Linked DNA regions of Homo sapiens: region 2 is linked to region 1. The links are contacts of gene promoters, found by promoter capture Hi-C in blood cells and fetal thymus (Javierre and others, 2016). All regions are on one chromosome and are shown on one strand. Each heading gives the region's core, a stretch centred on a gene start or on the middle of the fragment in contact. The rest is flanking DNA. Distances are from core to core; before and after follow the strand shown.

Region 1 (6,575 bases), core at 3,478-5,977:
AAGCGATCCTCCTGCCTCAGCCTCCCAAGTAGCTGGGACTACAGGTGTGCACCACCATGCTTGGCTAATTTTTTTTTTTTTTTGAGACGGAGTCTTGCTCTGTCGCCCAGGCTGGAGTGCAGTGGCGCGATCTCAGCTCACTGCAAGCTCGGCCTCCTGGGTTCACGCCATTCTCCTGTCTCAGCCTCCCGAGTAGCTGGGACTACAGGTGCCCACCGCCATGCCCAGCTAATTTTTTGTATTTTTAGTAGAGACGGGGTTTCACCGTGTTAGCCAGGATGGTCTCGATCTCCTGACCTCGCGATCCGCCCGCCTTGGCCTCTCAAAGTGCTGGGATTACAGGCGTGAGCCACCATGCCCGGCCCTTTTCTTTTTGATAGAGGGTCTTGCTCTGTCACCCAGGCTGGGGTGCAGTGGCATGATCTCGGCTCACTGCAGTCTCCACCTCCTGGGTTCAAGTGATCCTCCTGCCTCAGCCTCCCGAGTAGCTGGGATTACATGTGCCCGCCACCACATCTGGCTAATTTTTGTATTTTTAGTAGAGACGCGGTTTCACCATGTTGGCCATGCTGCCTGGCTAATTTTTTAAACTTTTTTGTAGTTATGAGGTCTTGCTCTATTGCCCAGGCTGATCGGGAACTCCAGGGCTTGAGCAATCTTCCCGCCTCAGCCTCCCAAAGGGCTTGGATTACCGGCATGAGCCACGGTGCCCGGCTCCAGCAGGTTTTGATAAGAGAAGGGGGAGTGATCTCTCTCGAGGGCACTAGAACTCCCAAGAGTGATAAACGGGGTGAGGAGAGGCAGAGAGGAGTCCAGAAGTCAAACATCACCTACTTGATCCACCCACTGTGATGGCCCTGGAAAAAAGCCTCCACGGCAAATGCTGAATAAATATTATGACTGGGATCACTAAAGCCAAGCCAAGGCAAACAACCCCTCTAAAATCCAACACAGAGCAGATAAAAGGAGATCAGAAAAATGTAGAGGTCAAGGGCGAGATAATTCTAGTAGCACCCAGACAGGGACAGGTACCGTTATCGGGGTCTCTTCTTGGGCCCCGTGGAGCTTGGGGACCCGGATCCTTCTATGGGGTGGGGCCATCCTGGGCACTGGAGGTTGCTGAGCAGTGTCCCTGGCCTCCACCCACCCCGCGCCAGGGCCACCCCCCTTTGTTGTAACAACCACAGATGTCCTCAGACATCACCCAGTGTCCTCGGGGGAGTGTAAAATCACCCTGGGTGAGCTCCCCTGGGTTAGGGGATTCCATGGACCCCCAAGAGACTGTATCCCGTGATGCTCTGCCCTGCTGAGGTCCCAGGAGGCTGCACACATTGAAATCCATGCCCTGAATGGGGAAGGAGGGAGGAGGTGAATCCCAGGATCTGGGGTTCCCCTGGTTTATACCGTCTGCCCTGTTGGGAGTTTATTCTGGTGTCTGGTGTGAGCAGGGAACCCACTCAATTTTTTCCCAAATAATTAATGCAGTCTTTCTCCCCCAGATCCCGTGGCTGTGGGGCAGGATTGCTTTCTGGGGTGGGGCCGTCCTGGGCACTGTAGGGTGCTGAACGGCATCTCTGGCCTTCACCCATTCTATGCCAGGAGCATCTCGCACTCGTGACAACCACAGATGTCCCAGACATTGCACAGTGAGTGTCCTGAGTTTCCGTCCGGAAGGTTGAGGCTGCAGTGAGTTTTTTTTTTTTTTTTTGAGATGGAGTCTCGCTCTGTCACCCAGGTTGGAGAACAGTGGCACCGATCTCGGCTCACTGCAAGCTCCGCCTCCCAGGTTCACGCCATTCTCCTGCCTCAGCCTCCCGAGTAGCTGGGACTACAGGCGCCCACCGCCACGCCCGGCTAATTTTTTTTTTCGTATCTTTAATGGAGACAGGGTTTCACCGTGTTAGCCAGGATGGTCTCAATCTCCTGACCTCGTGATCCACCCACCTCGGCCTCCCAAAGTGCTGGGATTCCAGGCATGAGCCACTGTGCCCGGCCTGCTGCAATGAGTTTTGATCACAGCACTGCACTCCAGTCTGCCCTAGTGGAGGGCAAGTGCAGTAATGTGAGTTAGTGTTGGATAAAAGAACCATATCGTGTGTGGCATATGGTAGCCCCTTATTGAATTTTGATTTCATGAATACATATGAGTGATCCATTGAAAAATATAAACCAGGCCGGGCGTGGTGGCTCATGCCTGTAATCCCAGCACTTTGTGAGGCCAAGGCGGGTGAATCACTTGAATTCAGGAGTTCAAGACCAGCCTGGCCAACATGGTGAAACCCCATCTCCACCAAAAATACAAAAATTAGCTGGGTGTGGTGGTGGGAGCCTGTAATGCCAGCTACTCAGGAGGCTGAGGCAGGAGAATCGCCTGAACCTGGGAAGTGGAGGTTGCAGTGAGCTGAGATTGTGCTACTGCACTCCAGCCTGGGCGACAGAGCGAGACTCTGTCTTGAGAAAGAAAGAAAGAAAGAGAGAAAGAAAGATAGAGAGAGAAAAGAGAAAAAAAGAGAGAGGAAAGAAGGAAGGAAGGAGGGAGGGAGGGAGGGAGAGAAGGAAGGAAGGAAGGAAGGAAAGGAAGGAAGGAAGGGGAAGGGAACCAGGATGTGAATTTTTTTAGAGCAAGGAGGGCACATAAATTACCCCTCTCAACCTAGCACATGGCACAGTGTCCAGCAAACAGAAAGCTTGATTTAGTCTCCTATTTGCTAAACTTCCAACAGTGCCCTGCTGTTTAGCACAAACCAAACTCCTTGCCACAACACACAGGGCTTTGCACGACCTGCCCCGTCCCCTCCCTGCCTTCCCCTCCTCCCTGCCTTCCCCTCCTCCCTGTCTTCCTCTCCTGCCTGTCTTCCTCTCCTCACTCTGCTCCAGCCACAGGGGTCTCATTGCTGTTCCTCCAATGCGCTAGGCACGGACCTGCCTCAGGGCCTTTGCACAAACTGTGCCTCTGCCTGGGACACCTTTCCCCAGACCTTCCCAGGGCCAGTTCCATCTCATCCTTCAGGACTGCACTGAACATGTCATTTTTTTTTTTTTTGAGACAGAGTCTCACTGTCGCCCAGGTTGGAGTGCAGTGGTGTGATCTCAGCTCACTGCAACCTCCGCCTCCTGGGTTCAAGTGATTCTCCTGCTTCGGCCTCCCGAGTACTGGTATTGCAGGCATGTGCTACCACACCCATCTAATTTTTATATTTTTAGTACAGATGGGGTTTCACCATGTTGGCCAGGTTGGTCTCAAACTCTTGACCTCAGGTGATCCACCCACCTCGGCCTCCCAAAGTGCTGGCATTACAGATGTGAGCCACCACGCTTGGTCTAATATGTCATCTGCTAAAGGGGGACTTTGCCTGGGCACAGTGGCTCATGCCTGTAAATCCAGCACTTTGGGAGGCTGAAGCAGGTGGATCATTTGAGCCCAGGAGTTTGAGACCATACTGGCCAACACAGTAAGACCCCATCTCTATAAAAAAAAAAAAACAAAATTAGCCAGGTGTGGTGGTGCACGCCTGCAGTCCTAGCTACTTGGGAGGCTGAGACGGGAGGATCACTTGAACCCAGGAGTTGGAGGCTGCAGTGAGCTATGATCCTGCCACTGCACTCCAGCCTGGGCAATAGAGTGAGACCCTGTCCTCCACCAACACCAAAAAAAAAAACAAAAAAACAAAACAGGGCTCCTCTCTCTTGGTAGGGGGTGGAGGGGAGGTCAGAGACACCTCTCAGCCACCCGGGCTGATTCACAAATATCGAACATTCACTAAAATGTCAATACAGTGACCTAGAGCCAGAGGGGAAGAGGGAGGGTACAAGAGGAGAGTTCCAGGCAGAGGGGCGAGCAGGTGAGTAGGTGCAAAGGCCCTAAGCAGGAACCAGTTTGGCTCCATAAATATTTGTTGACTCAATGAACGATAGAAGATTCTAGAGAGAATTGATTGCACAGAATCACCCATGGGGACTCAGAGGCGGAGTCCAAGCTGGTTTCGGAGGGGGCTGGGGGCCGGAGGTTGGCAGGTGGGGTGAAGGATGGGAGCCGCTAGCTGCTGGCAGGAAAACTGGCTTCAGTGAAGATCTGGTCTGGTCCTCTTGGTTTGTTTCTGTCCAGGGAGTGGACAGGACCCATGTAAGGGCCCTGGGCTATCCCAGAACCCATCTGGGAATTCTGAAGAGAAAAAGTCCTGTAACTGGCCGGGTGCGGTGGCTCACGCCTGTAATCCCCGCACTTTGGGAGACTGAGGGGCCGATCACGAGGTCAGGAGTTCGAGACCAGCCTGGAAAACATGATGAAACCTCGTCTCTACTAAAAATACAAAAGTTAGCCGGGCATGGTGATGGGGACCTGTAGTCCCAGCTACTCGGGAGGCTGAGGCAGGAGAATCACTTGAACCCAAGAGGCAGAGGTTGCAGTGAGCCGAAATGAGATGGCACCACTGCACTCCAGCTTGGGCCACAGAGCGAGACTCCGTCTCAAAAAAGAAAGAAAAAAAGAAAAAGTCCTCATAAGTAGGGCAGAGGTCACGGCAGAGTGGAGGTACCCCAGACTTCGACCTTTGCTCACTGAGGGCTGGAAAACCACAAAACACCCAGATAACGGTCTTCCCTCCCCTGCTCCTGCCTGCCCCAGTGTCACTGGCCCTCAACCCTGTCTCTCCACCCTGTCCACCAATCAGCACCTGGAGGTGGGCTGGGAGCTGCCTGTGACCGCTTCAGCATCTTTTGGGAGTGGTGACAGAGCCACAGAGGGCTGTGAGCTTGCCCGGCCCCAGGTAACGCTGGCGGTGGGTGGGCCTCCAGCTTGGAGCAGAGACCCCCCGAGGCATCTGCAGACAGAACTGGATGGACCCATGAATACGGATTTAGCTGCTGGAAAGGTGAGCCCTACTAGGTCCCCAGGGAGAGCGGGAGTCTAGGCTGGGAAAGCCTACCCAAGCTGCCAGAGCTGGAAGGACCCCATCTCCACCCCTATTGTACAGATGGGAAGACTGAGGCCCAGAGAAAGGATGCAATGAGCAAAACTGTGTGCCTTTGCCCCGGGGCTGCCCTTGTCTTTCTTCCAGGTCCCCCTGCCTCCTAGGAGCGGGCACTTGGGGAGGCTGTGAAGGCCTGAGAGGCAAGCGGCATCTCTAGCTAGGGCCTCTCTCCAGCACTTTTTATTTTATTTTATTTTATTTTTATTTTTATTTTTTGAGATGGAGTCTCCCTCTGTCACCCAGGCTAGAGTGCAATGGCACGATCTCAGCTCACTGCAACTTCCACCTCCTGGGTTCAAGAGATCTTCCTGCCTCAGCCTCCCAAGTAGTTGGGATTACAGGTGTGCACCACCACGCCCGGCTAATTTTTGTACTTTTCCTAGAGACAGGGTTTCACCATGTTGGCTAGGCTGGTCTCAAACTCCTGACTTCAGGTGAGCTGCCCGCCTCGGCTTCCCAGAGTGCTGGGATTACAGATGTGAGCCACCGTGCCTGCCATACTTTTTTGTTTTTTGAAACAAGGTCTTGCTCTGTGACCCAGGGTGGAGTGCAGTGGGGTGGCCATAGCTCACTGCAGCCTCAACCTCCTGGGTTCAAGGGATCCTCCTACCTCAGCCTCCCCAGTAGCTGGGACGACAAGTGTGTGCCACCGCAGCCAGCTAATTTTTTTAAATTATTTGCAGTAGGGATAGGGGTCTCTATGTTGCGCAGGCTGGTCTTGAACTCCTGGGCTCAAGTGATCCTCCTGCCCCGGCCTCCCAAAGTGCTGAGATTACAGGCATGAGCCACCACATCCAGCCTCTCCAGCACTTTAAGAGAAATTGGCTCTCACACTGTGGAATTCTCTCTATCAGCCTCAAAGTCCAGATTTGGAAAGGGAGTCTCAGCGAGGGGCAGCAGCTGGCCCAACCCGGAGGCAGAGCGGCAACTGAACTCTAGCCGGAAAGAGCCAGGGTTATGTGCACATGGGAGGTGGGGAGGACAGGGGCTGTATGTGACCCTCACATCTGTTCCTCGCGCCCCAGATGGCTTCTGCTGCCTGCTCCATGGACCCCATCGACAGCTTTGAGCTCCTGGATCTCCTGTTTGACCGGCAGGACGGCATCCTGAGACACGTGGAGCTGGGCGAGGGCTGGGGTCACGTCAAGGACCAGGTGAGGAGTCCACTGCAGTTGCCCCGGGACCACAGAGCTCCAGGCGGGCCAACTGAGGCCCCACGAAGGTGCTAGACCCGCCAGAGCCCAGCCAGAGCTCTGCTCAGCTCTACGATGCACTAATGGGTCACGGTGCTTGATTTTAGCCAAGCACATCATTTAGCGGGTAGCATCAGCTCCTTCTTACAGGTGGGGAATGGAGGCCCAGAGCAGGGTGGAAACTCATCCAAAGTCACACAGCAATTTGGAGTTAGGTTCAAACTCAAACTTGGGGCATCTCCCTGGCTAGGTTCGGTTCTCTTCTCCTTCCTCTCCTTCCTTTCTCTCTTTCTTCTTCTTTTTTTTTTTTTTGAAGGAGTCTCGCTCTGTTGCCCAGGCTGGAGTGCAGTGGTGCCATCTCGGCTCACTGCAACCTCTGCCTCCCGGGTTCAAGCGATTCTCTTGCCTCAGC
Region 2 (5,519 bases), core at 1-2,500, 170 kb before region 1:
CTTAAAAGCTTTTCCTAGCAAGGCGGACCTCATACAGCCTGGTAGAGCCACGTCAATCAGAACGAAGCGGAGTCAGTGTTGCAGTGCCAAGCGCATCTCACTCCAGACAAGGACAAGGAGCAGGGGCTCCACTGAGCTCTCCGGCGCAGAAACCACGGGCTTGTGGAATTTTAAGCATTAACAGGGAAGAAACGAGGTCTGGAGCAGGCCTGTCCCAACCCCTCCAGAGCATTTGTGTTGTTTGTGGACAGAAGACAGCAGGATGTAACTCAAAAACTGCCCCGGAGGCCGGGCGTGGTGGCTCACGCCTGTAATCCCAGCACTTTGGGAGGCCGAGGCGGGTGGATCACGAGGTCAGGAGATCCAGACCATCCTGGCTAACACGGTGAAACCCCGTCTCTACTAAAAATGCAAAAAATTAGCCGGGCATGATGGCAGGCGCCTGAAGTCCCAGCTACAGGAGGCTGAGGCAGGAGAATGGCGTGAACCTGGGAAGCAGAGCTTGCAGTGAGCCAAGATCACGCCATTGCACTCCAGCCTAAGCAACAGAGCAAGACTCTTGTCTCAAAAAAAAAAAAAAAAAAAAAAAAAAAATAGCCCTGGGCCAGGCATGGTGGCTCACACCTGTAATCCCAGCACTTTGGGAGGCCGAGGCAGGGGGATCACGAGGTCAGGAGATCGAGACCATCTTGACTTACTAACACAGTGAAACCCCGCCTCTACTAAAAATACAAAAAAAAATTAGCCGGGCGTGGTAGCACGCGCCTGTAGTCCCAGTTACTCAGGAAGCTGAGTGAGGCAAGAGAATCGCTTGAACCCGGGAGGTGGAGGTTCTAGCGAGCCAAGATCACGCCACTGCACTCCAGCCTGGATGACACAGCGAGACTATCTCAAAAAAAACAACAACAACAACAAAAACAGCCCCACATGCCTGTGGAAGACTGCAAAGAAGAAACTTGAGGAACTTAAGAAGCTGAGACCAAGACCGAGATCAAGTCTAGGCGTCTGCAGAGCCTAGCTCAGCTCAGCTTTAAAGCAGAGGGCAGGTGTCCGGGGTGGGGCGTGGGGAAGGCTGGTCACTGGCGCCTCACCTTGATGGGGATGCAGGCGTGGTCCTCCTCCAGGTCCTTCAGGCAGATCTCCAGGTGCAGCTCGCCGGCGCCCGCGATGATATGCTCTCCCGACTCCTCGATGATGCACTGAAAGGGATGCGGGTCAGCACCAAAGGGGTAGGCGGCTCGGAACAGGCGGGACCAGGCTCCCAGCTTCCCTTTAGCTAGGGACCCCGCCAGAACAAGATTTCAGGGAAGGTGCTGGGAAACTGGGACCAGCACAAACTCCTGAAGAAATGTTAAGTCCCACAAGCTACAGTGAACACGCGCAGAGCAGCCTAGGAGAGGGTGGTGGCTGCCTGGGCAGGAGTCTCCATTTACAGCCACAGCCAAGAACCCCTCCTTTCATGACCAGTCACCCCAATCCACCAACCACAGCAACCCACACAGCCACAACTCAGGACACAAGCCGTCCCCCCTCAGGGTGTCTGCTCCCAGCAGGTGCACTCCGTGCCCACCTGCACCATGGGGTCGGACTTGGCCAGCCGCTTCAGCCCCTCCACCAGCTTGGGCAGGTCAGCCGGGTTCTTGGCCTCCACGGCCACTCTGACAACAGGGCTGACGCTGAACTTCATCACCCGCATGTTGTGCGCGTGCTCGAAGGTGGTGATGGTGCCCGTCTTCACCAGGAACTGGTCCACGCCCACGAGGCCCACAATGTTCCCACAAGGCACATCCTCGATGGGCTCCACGTAGCGGCCCATCATCAAGATTGTTCTGGAAGAAGCAGAAGGCGGCAGCAGGCCGCAGGGATGGTTGTGCTGGACCCTGGAGGGCCAGGGCAGGTCCCTCCCGGAGTTGGTGGCCCTCCTGCCAGGTCCCAGGGCAGACTGGTGGCTTCCACAAGGCCCTGACTGCTGCGTCGGGGCTGTCAGGAAACATCCTCTTCAGAATCACTGCCCTCCTCCCTGGGTATGGGTCGACGGCCGCCACCCACCTGTGCCCAGGGACACAGATGAGCAGGGGTGTGCTGTGCCCTGGGGCTTGGAGCTTCTCCAGAAATGCCCTCACTGGGCTAAGAACAAAAGTTGTGGCTGGCACAAGTATCACCCTATATTCCTTCTATGCTCCTTACTTCTAGCTCCCGACTGAGGAGCCCAAGACTTGGAGCAGGGCAGGGCCCGCAACAGTGCCAAGGGGCCTGCACATCACCCAGCTGCTCACCTCTGGATTGGCTTCAGGTAGAGGTCCTCCTTCTTCCCAGGGGTATAGTTGGGCCCCATGATCCTGACCTTCAGGCCAGTGGAGACCAGCCCCGAGAAGACTCGTCCAAAGGCGTAGAACCGACCTTTGTCGGAGGTTGGCACCATTTTGGAAATATACATCATAAGAGGGCCTTTGGGGTCACAGCTTTTAATGCCTGAGGGACAGAGAAAACCCGCAAGCTTTATTCCAGTGCAGCTCAGCCTTCTGGAACCCTGCAACCCACAACCTTGGGCAACAGGAAGTCATCCGGCTGCATCTCAGGGCCCGGCCACCGGGACCACGTACCCATGGCAGCCTCGTCGTCCGGGGGCCCCTCGTACAGGAGCTCGCAGCGGTACTTCTGGGCCGTCACAGGGGAGGGCAGGTGGATGGTGATCATCTGCAACAAGGCGTCTCCGGCAGGCAGCCAGCGGCGCATCACAGCCTGCGGGGGCAGAGAGCGGTGCATGAGACACCTGGGGAGCCCAGGATGGCCCCACCCCGTACACGCTTCCTCTCTTGAAGCCAAGGAAGCCAAAGTCAGGACTAACGTTCTCCAAAGCACAGTCCCTTCTGGAAGGCGGCAAAGGCCATGCACACTCCTGCCAAGGCCCTCACCCACACCTGTCCCGGATGGGGCTGGCTGCTGGGATGTGTCTCCAGCAGCACCCAGAGTCTAAAGCGAAAGGGGCAGCAGCTGTCCCTGCCCAGCTGAGGACTTCAGCCCCCAGGCCTGGGCTGTCAGAGCATCCGGAAACAGCAGCCTGTGTTCCCTCCACCCCGAGGGCTGGGCCCAGGCCGCACCTTCAGCAGGGGTTTGCCTTCTTTGTCCTTGTCCTCGCTGTCCAGTTTGATGTCCAGTTTCTCTATCAGTTTTGCTGTCTCCTCTTTCTTGAAATTCATGATCGCATCAAACACCTACATTCCCCACCAAGAAACAAGAAAGCCCATTTGGGAACAGCAGGAGGAAGCCTGGCACTGCTTCCTGCTTGGAAGACTCAGGTCAGCGCAGGGGGACGCAGCACGGGAGCAGGAGCAGGCCTGGCCTGCCTACCACGGGCCCAGCCAGCTGAGCGGATCGGGAGCTGGAGGAAACCTCGTGGTGGAGCAGAGGAAAAAGCCCACTCTGACTCAGACAAGGACCCAAGTTCTGACTTACAAGCACTGAACCGCCAAAGCCACAAGTTATTCAACCCCCTCAATGCAGGAGAGGTCCCAAGGCTCTGGCTATGCAGTCCAGATCTTAAGAGAGGAGCCCTGACTCCACCTCAGTTAGGAGCTGTGCCTCCTCCCATCTCGCATCTGCCCCACAAGGAGACGGGCCCAGTCAGCCGACAGGCTACCGGCCGGAGCCCACAGGGCCGAGGGCCAATAGTCGCATCGGCGGGGTGCCTGGCGCAGCCCTCACTCACCTTGAAGATGGGGTCCAGGATCAGCTGGCAGAAGGTGCGTGGCAGCTTCTTCCCTTCGGGGCTGGTGGCTGACTTGCTGAACTTGCCGTTGGCTGGGTCAAAGTACCTGGCAAGGAGAGGCCAAGCCAAATCAAGTTAGGGTCTCCAGGGGATGACTTGGGGAGGGTGGTCGCCAAGGGGACATGCTTGGGCAAGACCTGGTGGGCTTGAGCCACGCTGTGAATAGCACACCACGCCCCTACGTCGCTGCCACTACCCCCAGGTGTCAGGAATCCCCCACCATATCCCGCGGGGCTCACCTGTCACCCCACAGCTTCTTCATCATGTCCTCTACTTTCTTGGCCCGCTCGGCAGGCCCCAACTGGCCCTCCCCCTTGGCGGCGAACTTGGCCACATACATCTCGGCAAACTGCTTCAGGGTGAAGGCCCACCCGTGGAGGCCAGACCCAAAGCCCACGGTACCGAGGACAGGATCGATCTGGAAGTGTGAGAAACGAGAAGCAGCCGTGAGGGCCCCTGCGCAGAGCCTGAAGCTACGGGCTGGGCGCCTTGGGCATGGGCCTCAGACGCAGGCTTTCTTCAGTAGACATCTGGTCAAAGTGAAGAAATGATCAGTCATCACGAATAGGGGGGCCAGCCCCTCCACCACCCAGGGCAGCGTTCCCTGAGCTCGTCTCTTCCAGCTGCCCAAAGATCAAGGGCTGGGTCAAGTCGGATGAAAACATTCCAGCCCCCTTCTCTGTCACCCAACATTCCTGGCAAAAACACACTTCCAGTCCCCCTCAGCTCAACTCCACTCCCCACCGGCTCCTGCAGATCCCGCTGCGGCAAGCCCACCACCCAGCTAGGGAGGGCCGTACCATGATGTTGCCCATGGGGCCGCTCTCGCCCTCGCCGTAGGTGGAGATGATGACGTTCACGTTCTCCACGATGCGCTGGAAAGTCTGGTAGAGCTCCTCGGGCTCCAGCTGCAGCTCCAGCAGGGCGCGGTCCATCTTGTTCATCATCAGCACAGGCTTGATGCGCTCGGCAATGGCCTGCCGCAGCACTGTCTCCGTCTGCACGCACACGCCTGGGGACACGGGGGACAGGGCGGCGCTGTCATCCTCAAGCAAGGATGGCCCCCGGTTCCAGGCCGTGCCTCAGGGGGACCCACTGCTTACCTGACACGCAGTCCACCACCACCAATGCGCCATCGGTGACTCGGAGGGCAGCAGTCACCTCCGAGGAGAAGTCGACATGCCCGGGGGAGTCAATGAGGTTGATGAGGAAGCCGGCACCGTCCTTGCTCTGCTTGATGAAGTTCAAGTCATTCTCCGAGAGCTCGTAGAAGAGGGAGATGGCACTGATGGAGGGAGGGACTCGTCAGGGGGACAGGAGCCACACACCTGGCCCAGGGAGTCTGGGATGCTGTCAGAAGCCAGGCTGCTCCTCCCTCCATGACTCATCCCTGGAGAGGCTCCCACAAGAGCCAACCCACCCTTGTCCTTTGCCTCTGTCCGAGACATGCCACCCCCATGACAGGGAACTCCTGGTACCAGCCCCATAGCCAGATCCTCAGAGCCCTCCTGACCAGACATCCTGCCCCACCGACTTGGTCCCAAGATTCATCACACCTGACTCAAAGTAGCAACTAAAAGACCCAGCAGGACGGCAAAAGCCTCCAGAGACTCCGACCCTCCCCTCCTCACTTCTGCCCCTGCTCCAGGGGAAATGAAGAGCCTTAGCCAGAGTCCCTCACCAATGTACCAACCCAGGACAAAAAGCAGTTGGGGTCACCGTACTCTGCGCTCCCCCTACTCATATCGGG

Evidence for each region. The method cuts DNA at HindIII sites, captures the fragments that hold promoters and counts their contacts. A CHiCAGO score of 5 or more calls a contact.
Region 2: a fragment that was not itself captured here is called in contact with the fragment with the promoter of CREB3L3 in region 1 in 1 of 17 cell types (naive CD8 T cells); the score reaches 5.2 in naive CD8 T cells.

The regions. Positions count from the first base shown.
Region 1 is chr19:4,148,904-4,155,478 of GRCh38, forward strand. CREB3L3 (cAMP responsive element binding protein 3 like 3) reads left to right here and starts at 4,728. Exons shown (of 10, transcript NM_032607.3): 1 at 4,728-4,871; 2 at 5,996-6,124. The coding sequence starts at 4,845. RefSeq lists a silencer at 635-835. The HindIII fragment of the contact is 35,033 bases long and covers 2,686-6,575 here.
Region 2 is chr19:3,978,238-3,983,756 of GRCh38, forward strand. It overlaps EEF2 (eukaryotic translation elongation factor 2), which reads right to left. Exons shown (of 15, transcript NM_001961.4): 3 at 4,873-5,054; 4 at 4,570-4,781; 5 at 4,009-4,187; 6 at 3,710-3,815; 7 at 3,102-3,215; 8 at 2,604-2,742; 9 at 2,277-2,472; 10 at 1,571-1,829; 11 at 1,092-1,199. SNORD37 (small nucleolar RNA, C/D box 37) reads right to left here and starts at 4,335; the gene lies at 4,270-4,335. RefSeq lists an enhancer at 3,236-4,087. The HindIII fragment of the contact is 2,489 bases long and covers 7-2,495 here.